Linked DNA regions of Homo sapiens: region 2 is linked to region 1. The links are contacts of gene promoters, found by promoter capture Hi-C in human tissues and cell types (Jung and others, 2019). All regions are on one chromosome and are shown on one strand. Each heading gives the region's core, a stretch centred on a gene start or on the middle of the fragment in contact. The rest is flanking DNA. Distances are from core to core; before and after follow the strand shown. Region 1 holds the start of CSH1 (chorionic somatomammotropin hormone 1). Region 2 has its middle 22 kb from the start of TEX2.

Evidence for each region. The method cuts DNA at HindIII sites, captures the fragments that hold promoters and counts their contacts. A contact is called where the count stands out against the background at its distance.
Region 2: a contact is called between a fragment that was not itself captured here and the fragment with the promoter of CSH1 in region 1, in 1 of the 25 tissues and cell types used here (lymphoblastoid cells).

Annotation. Positions count from the first base shown.
Region 1 is chr17:63,893,400-63,899,267 of GRCh38, forward strand. It overlaps CSH1 (chorionic somatomammotropin hormone 1), which reads right to left and starts at 3,175. Exons shown (of 5, transcript NM_001317.6): 1 at 3,103-3,175; 2 at 2,676-2,836; 3 at 2,332-2,451; 4 at 2,074-2,238; 5 at 1,519-1,820. The coding sequence starts at 3,112. The coding sequence ends at 1,623. The HindIII fragment of the contact is 19,326 bases long and covers 1,715-5,868 here.
Region 2 is chr17:64,282,483-64,288,304 of GRCh38, forward strand. No RefSeq gene overlaps it. Among named protein-coding and RNA genes, the nearest start is that of TEX2, 22 kb to the left of the region's middle. The HindIII fragment of the contact is 7,519 bases long and covers 1-5,822 here.

The DNA of each region.
Region 1 (5,868 bases), core at 1,925-4,424:
CTTCCCAAGGACTGAGTTATTAATGGTAAAATAGCCAAAAATGAATACAAGTGGGTCTCATTATCAAGAAAATTCATTATAGCATTTAAGAATCGAACTTCTAAAGAAGATTAATTGGGGGGTTGATTATTTGCATTGCAAAACAATTCCTGACTTTATGAAATCATTTTTGGATACTAGAGTTCCTGTGAGCATCTTAGCATCGATTTATAGGTCACCAGTCACTTAGCCAAGGTGCTTGGGAGAGCAAACTCTTAACTAACCACCGCTCTTTAGTGCTTATTTGGAAATAATAAACATCTGAGATGTTTATTATTTCCTAATTGTCATTAGGAAAACAATATAATTTCACTACAGGTATTTAGACACTCCATCAGAAAACACAAAACATCCAAAAATTCAATGCAGAAATAGCTAGAATTTCTTGAGTACTATAATATATCAAAAATACCATTGCATTTAGTCCTCACATAATCCTTGTAAAGCAATATATTATTATCTCAGCTTGGTCAAGTAATTTATTCGGGGGCACTAAATTACATACAGCCCAAATCTTTCTGATTCTTTCCCTTACACCAAGTTACCCCAATCAACATCTCTTAGAACAAAATTGCTCACAGACAGCTTGGAGACCATGTGTGTTTCGGTTAATTTTTGCCCTTAAAAGATTTTCAATATGTGTTGCCAGTGTTTAAATGTTAGAATTCCTGTAAAAGTCTGGATGTCCTGGCTGTCTCAAAAGGTCAGAAGGTCTGGAAGCCGTGTCCCTGCAGTCCTGATGGTGACAGGCTGGGTGGGTCCCACCTCAGCAGGGGCCTGAGTTCTGCAGATTGTGCTGGTTCCCACCCCTCTGTGTTGCATCCCCCGAAGGGAAGTGAGTGTCATCTGGGATTTATCCCCTCCCATCCAGCCCTCATTGCTTACATTGTTATCTACCTGGAACCTGTTGGCACTGCATTTACAACCCCAAATAAAATCTCTCTTCCACTTCCCTTGCCCTAATTCAGATTCCAAATGCTCTGGTTCTGTATGTCTCAAACTCATTTTTGCATTGTTCTCATTTCCCGAGAGTAGTTGGGCTTAAGGAATACTCATCTTAAAATTCTTCCGAACACAAGTAATTCTATGCCATTGTTTCCTCACCTGTTGGGGAGTTTTTGCCTCTGCACTTAATAGCCCATCTTGTTTTCATTTCTTTCCGCTCCTGGGGGGCTAGGTTTGGTGTTGCTGGTGATGGTGGGGGAGGAAGAAATGCCTTCAAGTCATCTCTGAGATGACCAATGGGCTGTGACCAGCAAGCTGGGACCACTGAGCTGGTGGAATGGCCTTAGTGAGTAATAGACAGCAGTGATGTGTCAGCTTTTTTCTGGCCCAGGAACAGCCAAACCTCTTATATTTCAGTGGCCTAGTTCCCAATAGACCTTGAAGGCCCTCCAGGTCTTCTTTCCACCTACCCCTTGCTCCATACCACCACCTTCCACCCCATAATATTATAGAATGACACCTAGTCAGATGAAATGATACAACTTAATTTTATTAGGACAAGGCTGGTGGGCACTGGAGTGGCACCTTCAGGGCCAGGAGAGGCACTGGGGAGGGGTCACAGGATGCTACTCGGGCACCTAGAAGCCACAGCTGCCCTCCACAGAGCGGCACTGCACCATGCGCAGGAATGTCTCGACCTTGTCCATGTCCTTCCTGAAGCAGTAGAGCAGCCCGTAGTTCTTGAGCAGTGCGTCATGGTTGTGCGAGTTTGTGTCAAACTTGCTGTAGGTCTGCTTGAGGATCTGCCCAGTCCGGCGGCTGCCGTCTTCCAGCCTCTGCAAAGTGAAGGAAGAGAAGGAGAGGCCAAGCGCTTGGGCACTGTTCCCTCCCTCTCTCATTTATCCATTTTCCTCCCTCCCCTTCAGGGTGTAGAGAAAGGCCTGGAGGATTCACCAGGCGAAATGAAGAATAAGGTGAGTTCTCTTGGGTCAGCGCCTTACTGCTAAAAAGAGGGCAGCAGTATTTCTCTCCCCCAGCCCTCGAAGCCAGTGGGGTTCCAGGATTGGTGACCCCTGGCGCCACCCTCACCCCCATCAGCGTTTGGATGCCTTCCTCTAGGTCCTTTAGGAGGTGATAGTCATCGCTGTCCGAGGTGTCATACACCAGGTTGTTGGCGAACATACTCCTGAGGAACCGCACGGGCTCCAGCCACGACTCGATGAGCAGCAGGGAGATGCGGAGCAGCTCTAGATTCTGCAGGGGAAGGACCGGCAGTGGCTGTGCTGCCCGGGAGCCCTGACCACAGGTCTCCCCCATCCCCGCCTAGGGGAGACGGCATCCACTCACGGATTTCTGTTGCGTTTCCTCCATGTTGGAGGGTGTCGGAATAGAGTCTGAGAAGCAGAAGGAGGTCTGGGAGTCATGCAGGAATGAATACTTCTGGTCCTTTGGGATATAGGTTTCTTCCTAGGAGAAGGACCCCCCACCAAGAAGGACTGCTGGTTTCTATGCTGGAGACCAGCTCCCATTGTTGCTTTTCTGGGAACCTGGCTCAGCCTATGCTCATCTGCCTGCATTTTCGCTTCAGAAAACAACCCTGAGCTCCTTAGTCTCCTCCCATTACTTCCCCAGTGGGGGAAAGTCACCCCTTCTTGCCACCCCTGACCCGCACCCATTCCCCAAGAACTTACAAACTCCTGGTAGGTGTCAATGGCCAGCTGGTGCGCGCGATGGGCTTGGAGCATAGCGTGGTCAAAAAGCCTGGATAAGGGAACGGTTTGGACGGCACCAGCCTCTTGAAGCCAGGGCAGGCAGAGCAGGGCAAAAGCCAGGAGCAGGGACGTCCGGGAGCCTGGGGAGAAACCGGAGGGCAATGGAGGGAGCCGGAGAGGAAGAGGCCAGCGCTCTCCCTGCTCCAGGAGCTGTTTGTTTTTTTTCTCTCTCTCCATCCCTCCAGAGACCAGGAACATTCAGAGATTGGCCAAATATCTGGCCTTAGATGGCGATACTCACATTCATAAGCCCCAAACCTGAGGGTTAGTGCCCCCGTCCCATCTACAGGGCGCTGCCTCTCCCCTCAGGACACGTTGTGCCCAAAGGGATTTTAGGGGCGCTTACCTGGAGCCATTGCCACTAGGTGAGCTGTCCACAGGACCCTGAGTGGTTCGGGGAGTTGGGCCTTGGGATCCTAGAGCCGGTCTCTTGTGGGCCCTTTTTATACCCTGGCCAGTTCTCTCTCCCTGCTTGACCCCACCTGTTTCTGTGTACATTTATGCATGGGGCCACTGACGGGCTTGTGCTAGTGGATAATTTAGAAGCTCCTCCCACACATGCTGGGATCATGCCCCCTGGCTTGTCGTCTTTCCCTTCTCACCATCACCAGTGTTGTAAGGATTGTGCACAGAGTGTCAGCCACAGACTCCACCCAACTTGTCCTCTCTTTAAGGGTCAGGTGGGTGCCCTCTGGCTGCAGGCCATGTTGGTCAACCTGAACGCGGGGAAGGCTGTCAGGATAGCCAGTCCTTGAGACCCCTACCGACCCCATTCCACTCTCTATCCTATTCCTTTCCTCCTCCCCGCGTGTTTAACTTCCACCCACCAGACAGAATGTGTGTGTTGGGAAAAGGGGCCAAGCACAGCCAATAGATTGTGGGGGTTCTGAGCACCATTGAGTCCTGAATTCCACTTTTGCTGATGACTCCTGGGCCCACCTGAGTCAGCTGGATGCAGTGCTAACACTGACCACTAGAGAGAACCAACCCCACACATTGCTCTCCCCTTTCCCTGAACCTTGGGGCGGAGGCGGTGGGGCTCCCCCAGGTCCCTGGGGATGAATAACCCAGACTCAAGGTATTGCCCCAGCTCCTTGGACCTGAAGCAGAGATACAAACCAAGAAACAGAAATCCCGGGAACAGACACGGACCACAAGCGCTTCCTCCCATAGTCCTGAAACCAACAGAGAATCTCAAAGTTGGAAGAGCTCTTGAAGATTTGAGTCTCTTCCCCAGCTTTAAAACTCAGAACACATCACGCCGAAAGAGGCCCTATCCAGCCATGGAAGCCCGTCCTCTTTTGTCTCTTCCTCCTTTCCAGACCTGTGTAGAGCTTATCCAGTTGTCAAAGGCCTGCCTGTGCATTCTCACGTCTGACCTGCAACTTGTCTTGTGTAGGAGGTATGAGTATCATCCCATTTCACAGATCAGGAGACTGAGGCTCAGAGAGACTGATTGCATGAGCTACCTCAGCCAGGGCAGCAGATCTCCACAACCTGGCTCTTCCCACATTGCGTCATTTAAAGTCCTTTCTCCAGGCCGGGCATGGTGGCTCATGCCTGTAATCCCAGCACTTTGGAAGACTGAGGTGGGTGGATCACTTGAGGTCAGGAGTTCAAGGCCAGACTAGCCAACATGGCAAAACTCCATCTCTTAAAAATACAAAAGTAGCTGTGTGTGGTGGCAGAAGCCTGCAATCCCAGTTACTCCGGAGGGTGAGGAGGTAGAATCGCTTGAACCCAGGACTCAGAGGTTGCCGTGAGCCAAGATTGGGCCATGGCACTCCAGCCTGGGCGCCAGAGTGAGACTCCATTTCAACAACCACAACAACGACAACAACAACAACAACAACAACAAAAGTCCTTTCTCCAGAGCAGGTGGTGTGGTGCTACTCAGTTATTTAGTTATTTTAGTTTCCTTTCTTTCTTTCCTTCTTTCTTTCTTTCTTTCTTTCTTTCTTTCTTTCTTTCTTTCTTTCTTTCTTTCTTTCTCTCTCTCTCTCTCTCTCTCTCTCTCTCTTTCTTTCTTTCTTTCTTTCTTTCTCTCTTTGTCTTTCTTTCTTTCTTGTTTTTGATGGAGTCTCATTCTGTCTCTGAGGCTGGAGTGCAGTGGCATGATGTTGCCTCACAGCAACCTCCACCTCCTGGGTTCCAGTGATTCTCCCGCCTCAGCCTCCCTAGTAGCTGGGATTACAGGCGCCCGCCACTATGCCGGGCTAAGTTTTGTACTTTTTAAATAGAGACGGGGTTTCACTATGTTGGCCAGGCTGGTCTCGAGCTCTTGACTTTAGGTGATCCACCCTCCCTGGCCTCCCAAAGTACTGAGATTACTGGCATGAGCCACCGCTCCCAACCCAGTTATTTCAGCTTCTATATCCCTCTGAGTGCAGGGATCCTGCCCCCAACACAAGGGGCCCTTTGCCTGATTTTGTCTTTCCATAAGGGGCAGATTGTTCTTTCTCAATTCTCAGGTGAGAATGGCCCAGTGGCATGGGGTGCCTTGTGGAAACCTCACAGCAGGAAAAGGTGAAGGCAGAGAAGGCCAGGACTGAGCCTCCTGTCTCCTGGTGCCCAGAGTTGGGGCTATTTCAATATAATCTGGAGGTCACAAGCATCAGATGCCCCCAGAGATGGCAGCAGGAAAGAGCACCCTCTCTAGTGGTGAAATCTTCCCCCCGAGTTTAAGAGCATCTAGCACTTGACTCTGTAGAAACACAAGCAAACAAACAGGCAAACGCTTCCAGAAGTGGTTGGCAGTGGTGTTGGCAACCAACATTGAACACCCACACCCCTGTGGCCTAGGATGTGAATGCTGGGGCCCTGCCATCTCCCCACTTTCAGAGCAGAAAACAGAGCTCCTTTTTCTGCCGTCATTCCTGAAGCATTACTGGACTAGCACCCCAGACTCATCATCTGCTGGGAGGGCACTGTGCTGTGAGCTGTTCTCCAGGCAGGCCTGTAGGAGGATCCAAGAGGGGTGTCATCGATGATACCAGCTCTGAGAAATATGGGGTCAAGGGAGGGTGGAGTCACCACTTTCCCCTGCTCCTTCCAGCACCAGCAAAGAGGAGGAGCCAGGTGGGAATGGAAGAGGGTCCCTGAGCTCCAAGTA
Region 2 (5,822 bases), core at 1,551-4,050, 390 kb after region 1:
CCCACCCACTAGTGCAGAGAAAAGCTGGCCCCTGCCCGCTGGAAGCCCACCTGAGAGAGGGTGGTCCGAGAGGAACCCATACCTGCGTCCTCCACCCACATCGAATCCCCCCGGGGCCAACTGTTCTGGAAGGCCCCTAAACCAGCTGCGGGGCCACTTGGCTCTGAAGTGTTTGGGGCGCTTTGACATAATTTTGTTGTGTCTGCCCAGAAATCCTGACGCAGGCGGTCGGGGGTGGGGGGCCCTGGGGATCTGTAATTGACAAAGGCTCAGTGGGTTTGGGGACCTGGCACTCCCTAGATGACCTTTCCGGAATTGCCAGTCTCTGTCCTCTTCCGGAGGAATCTGGAAAACTTCCTCCAGAGTGTGGCATTGTTTCAAGAGTGACACATGTCATCGAAGCAGGGCTCTGGAGGCAGATGGCGGATTTCCTCCTGGCTCTGCCCCCAAACCTGCTGAGCCACAGCTTCTTCATCTGTGAAAAGAACATGATAATCTTCATACCCAGCTCTCAAGCTTGTTGTGAAGACTATTTAGTGTAATAATTTAATTACACTTATATTTACATTTAATCATAATTATTTAATATAGGTAAAGCCCCAAGCCCTTATTATTATTTTTGAGACAGAGTCTCACTCTGTTGCCCAGGCTGGAGTGCAGTGGTGTGATCTCTGCTCACAGCAACCTCTGCCTCCTGGTTTCAAGCGATTCTCCTGCCTCAGCCTCCCAGGTAGCTGGGACTACAGGCACACGTGCCACCACACCCAGCTGGTTTTTGTATTTTTAGTAGAGATGGGGTTTCACCATGTTAGCCAGGCTGGTCTCGAACTCCTGACCTCAAGTGATCTGTTCGCCTCGGCATCCCAAAGTGCCGGGATTACAGGCGTGAGCCACCGTGCCCAGCCCCCCTTATTATTATTACATACATATGGGTGCCTTTAAATAATGTTTAAAAGGAACAACCCTACTGTGGTTTGAATGTGTGTGTCTCTTCGAAATGTGTGTTGAAATTTCGTTCCCAATGCATGAGGTGGGGCTTTTAGGAGATGACTAGGTCAGAGGGCCTTGCCCTCATGAATGGGATTAGGGTTCTTATAAAAGGGCTGAAGGGAGCCTATTTGTCCTTTTCATCCCTTTCTCCCTTTCCACCATGTGAGGAGACAGCATTTGTCTCTTCTGGAGGACGCAGCAACAAGGCACCATCTTGAAAGCAGAGATGGAGCCCTCACCAGATACTGGATCTGCCAATCCCTTGATCTTGGACTTTCCAGCCTCCAGAACTGTGAGAAATAAATTTCTACTATTTATAAATCACCCAGACTAAGGTATTTTGTTATAGCAGCAGGAACAGACTAAGACAAACGCTTAAAGGAATCTTGAAGAAGAATCTCCGGGTGTAGTTAAAATATACGGTTTGAACCATTCCCCTAAGTAAATTCAGGTGGAATCCCCATGTCATGGATGATGTGTGTCATTTATAGAAGTGATCTCTCTAGGGAAGGATGAGTAGTGGGTGCCTGAGGGGGATTTAGGGACAGCCAAGGCTGGTTGTAATGACTAGGGCAGTGTCTCAATTTGTATGACCAGTACGTGATGACATAGAATAGGGTTTTCCAAAGTGGGCACCGCTGTGGTACTCAGATGCTTCTAGTAGTCCAGAGACCAAAGCTGGTGTATTAGGCCATTCTTGCATTGCTATAAAGAAATACCTGAGACTGAGTAATTTACAAAAGAGGTTTAATTGGGTCATGGTTTTGCAGGCTGTGCAACCATGGTGCCAGCACCTGCTTGGCTTCTGGGGAGGCCTCAGGGTGCTTTTATTCCTGGCTGAAGATGAAGCGGGAGCAGACATGTCACGTGGCCAGAGCAGGAGCAAGAGAGAGAGTGGTGGTTGTGAGGGGTGCCACATACTTAAACAACCAGATCTCCTGAGAACTCATTTACTATCACGAGGACAGCACCAAGCCATGAGGGATCCGCTCCCATGACCCAGACATCTCCCACCAGGCCTCGCCTCCAACACCAGGGTTTACAGTTCAACATGAGATTTGGCCAGGATATATATTAAAATTATATCCGTTGGTCATTAGGTCTACTGGCCACACCATTCCTGCTGATCCTGTCTGTGGTGGGTCAGCTGACTTGAGCCTTCAGTGGTCTGGCCATTCTGTTTCTTGCTGAAACCAATTAAATGCAGGCGAATTTGCCAGACTACAGCCCTGTGAGGGTGGGAACTTTGTCTTTTTCACCACTATATGCCCAGCCCCTAGAATTGTGCCTGGAAAACAGCGTGTGCTCAAAAATGTATGTTGAATGAGTGAATAAATGAATGACTGAATGAAATTGGCCTCCTGAATTATTCACCCAACTCCCGACAGCTTGATTAATGAAGTAAGCTGATAAAGAAGTTTCCAGAGGCTGAGGGCAGTGGCTCATGCCAGTAATCCCAGCACTTTGGGAGGCCGAGGCGGGAGAATCACCTGCGATCAGGAGTTCAACCACCCTGGCCAACATCGTGAAACCCCGTCTCTACTAAAAATACAAAAAGTTAGCCAGGCGTGGTGGTGCGTGTTTATAGTTCCAGCTACTTGGGAGGCTGAAGCAGGAGAATCGCTTGGACTCGTGAGGCGGAGGTTGCAGTGAGCCGAGATTGTGCCATTGCACTCAAGCCTGGGCAACAAGAGCGAAACTCCATCTCAAAACAAACAAACAGAAGTTCCTGGAAAGGTAAGGCCTGAACTAAAGCCCCACCTGGAAAGATGCTTTATTGACTGGCTGATGAATAAGAAAGACCCCTCCCAACCCTGCCCCTTGCTGCATGGAGCAAATTGTCAGGGGCCAGACACCTAGGCTTCATGGTGCTGTGCCAGGAGGTCGTAGAGGGCCAAGCTGCCCCTGCCTAACTCCTCTATCTCTGCTCCCTGATTATCAATACTCCTCTGGCACATCCAACAGGGCTCCTAGGTTGTTAAGTGGACTCAAGGCCCGGGCAGGCTTAGGCTGCAGATTGGCTTCTGTCTGAAGTTCCATCAAAGAGAGAAGAGCAACATCTCAGAAACATGATGAAAGGCTCCTGGGAAGCAGGGTCTGATTTTCAAAAGGTCATCTACAGCCCACATCAAGAGTACCTGCTGTTCTCAAAGGACAGGGCTCTAAACAGAGACTGCAGCTATTTCCTTCTCTGACATTCAACACAGTGACTAGAACCAGGCAAAGGCACCCAGAGGACCATGGCAGCCCATCCTGGAGTTGAGAGGGCTGGATGATGGGGCCCTGAGGGAGAGACAGCACTGTCTTGGGCTGTTATAGTCAGGATCTGCCACATGTCCTAACAGGGCTGGAGGAAGGGTCCTGATATGGTTTGGCTGTGTCCCCACTCAAATCTCATCTTGAATTGTAGCTCCCACAATTCCCATGTGTTGGGAGTGACCCAGTGGGAGGTAATTGAATCATGGGGGCAGGTCTTTCCCATGCTATTCATGTGATAGTGAATAAGTCTCATGAGATCTGATGGTTTTATAAAGGGCAGTCTCCCTGCACAAACTCTCTTCCCTTGTCTGCTGCCACGTGAGACGTGCCTTTCACTTTCTGCCATGATTGTGAGGCCTCCCCAGCCACGTGGAACTGTGAGTCCATTAAATCTCTTTCTTTTGTAAATCGCCTAGTCTTGGGTGTGTCAGGTATGTCTTTTATTTTTATTTATTTATTTTGAGACAGAGTCTCACTCTGTTGCCCGGGCTGGAGTGCAGTGGTGCTATTTTGCCTCACTGCCGCCCCTGCCTCCCTGGTTCAAGCGATTCTCCTGCCTTGGCGTCCCAAGTAGCTGGGATTACAGGCGCTTGCCACCACGCCTGGCTAATTTTTGCATTTTTAGTAGAGACAGGGTTTCGCCATGTTGGCCAGGCTGGTCTCAAACTCCTGACCTCAGGTGATCTGCCTGCCTCAACCTCCCAAGATGCTGGCATAACAGGCGTGAGCCACTGTGACCGGCCTGGGGTATGTGTTTCTCAGCAGTGTGAAAGTGGATTAATACAAGTGCCCTGCCTGTCTTGAGAGACAGTAGAAAGACACTGTCCTGGGAGTCCAAGGCAGGGCCTGTCCCCATAGGGAGCACAGGGTGAGCAGGACAGAACCAATCTTCAGGGGGAACTTTCCAGAGCCGTGGATTGTTGGACTGACCGCTCCCTTGACTGAAGGAAGGTTCGAAGAAGGCCCTCCAGCCCGAGGTGTGTCCTGAATCAGGCCCTGGGGATCATAGCAAGAACCAGCAGGCCCTTTCATCAGAGCCCCACTCTCTGGGCATGTCACAGCTGTGCCTAGGAGGGCTCGCTCTCTCTCCTCCAGTGGGAACACAGCAGGGCCAGTAGGGCCTCCGAACTGGGCCCATCTTCCTCAAGCTGAGTTCGTCAATTTCCCCAGGCCCAGACTGTCCCCCTGAGCCTTTGCCCAGGAGCTGCTTTGCCCACAAAGCCTTCTCACCCTGCCTTCTTGTTGCAGATTAAAGGGCACCTCCACTGTAATTAGATCCTTTTTCAAACAAAAGAACTATACGTAATGTCCTTGAAATAACTGGGGAAATTTGAATATGAACTGGGCATTGGATTATCAAAGAAATATGATGACCTACGTTTGGTGTGATAAAGGTATCCCTATGTAGGAAATTATCTTTGTGTGTTCTTTTTTTTTGAGACGAAGTCTCGCTCTTATCCCCCAGGCTGGAGTGCAATGGCATGATCTTGGCTCACTGCAACCTCCGCCTCCTGGGTTCAAGCGATTCTCCTGCCTCAGCCTCCCAAGTAGCTGGGATTATAGGCATGTGCCACCACGTCTGGCTAATTTTTGTATTTTTAGTGGAGACGGGGTTTCACCATGTTGGCCAGGCTTGCCTCAAACTCCTGACCTCAGGCGATCCACCCGCCTCGGCCTCCCAAAGCGCTGGGATTACAGGCGTGAGCCACCGTGCCCAGCTATCTTTGTTTTTAAAAGGAGGCCGGGCGTGGTGGCTCATGCCTATAATCCCAGCACTTTGGGAGGCCAAGGCGGGCGGATCAAAAAATCAGGGGATTGAGACCATCCTGGCCAACATGGTGAAACCCTGTCTCTACTAAAAATGTAAAAATTAATCGGGCGTGGTGGTGCACTCCTGTAATCCTAGCTTCTTGGGAGGCTGAGGCCAGAGAATCCCTTGAACTCGGGAGGCGGAGGTTGCAGTGAGCCAAGATTGCGCCACTGCATTCCAGCGAGCCAAGATTGCGCCACTGCACTCCAGCCTGGTGACAGAGTGAGACTCTGTCTCAAAAAAAAAAAAAAAAAAAGGAACACTGAGGTATTTGGGGGTGAACCTCTGCAATGTCTGAAGTTTACCTTAAAATCCTTCAGAAGGAAGTTAGAAATAAATCTAGCAAGATGCTAATAACTGTTAAGCCTGGGTGGTGAGCATGTAAGGCTTTCTGTATGTTTGGAAATTTATATAATATAATGTAGGAAGAACCTCCGAGAGGCCTTCCCTGATTCCCTAGAACTGGGTTGGGTGTCCCTCTCATGGGTGACCGTAGTTCCTGTCCTGGCCCGACATCAGTCACCGGGACACTTAGAATTCTGAATTCAACTGCCTGCCTTTTAAAATTAGGTTAAGACCCTTGGGGGTACCCCCAGAGAGTCTGACAGAGAGTAGATGCTAATACAGGAATGCTGGAAAGAAGGAAGGAGGAAGAGGGAGGAGGGAGGGAGGCTGCAGCCCCCAGCTCCCGTCTCAGAACCAGGCACACAGCAAGTCCTCAACTCTTGTTTATTAGGCTGAATTTTCTTTTCTATTTTTTTTG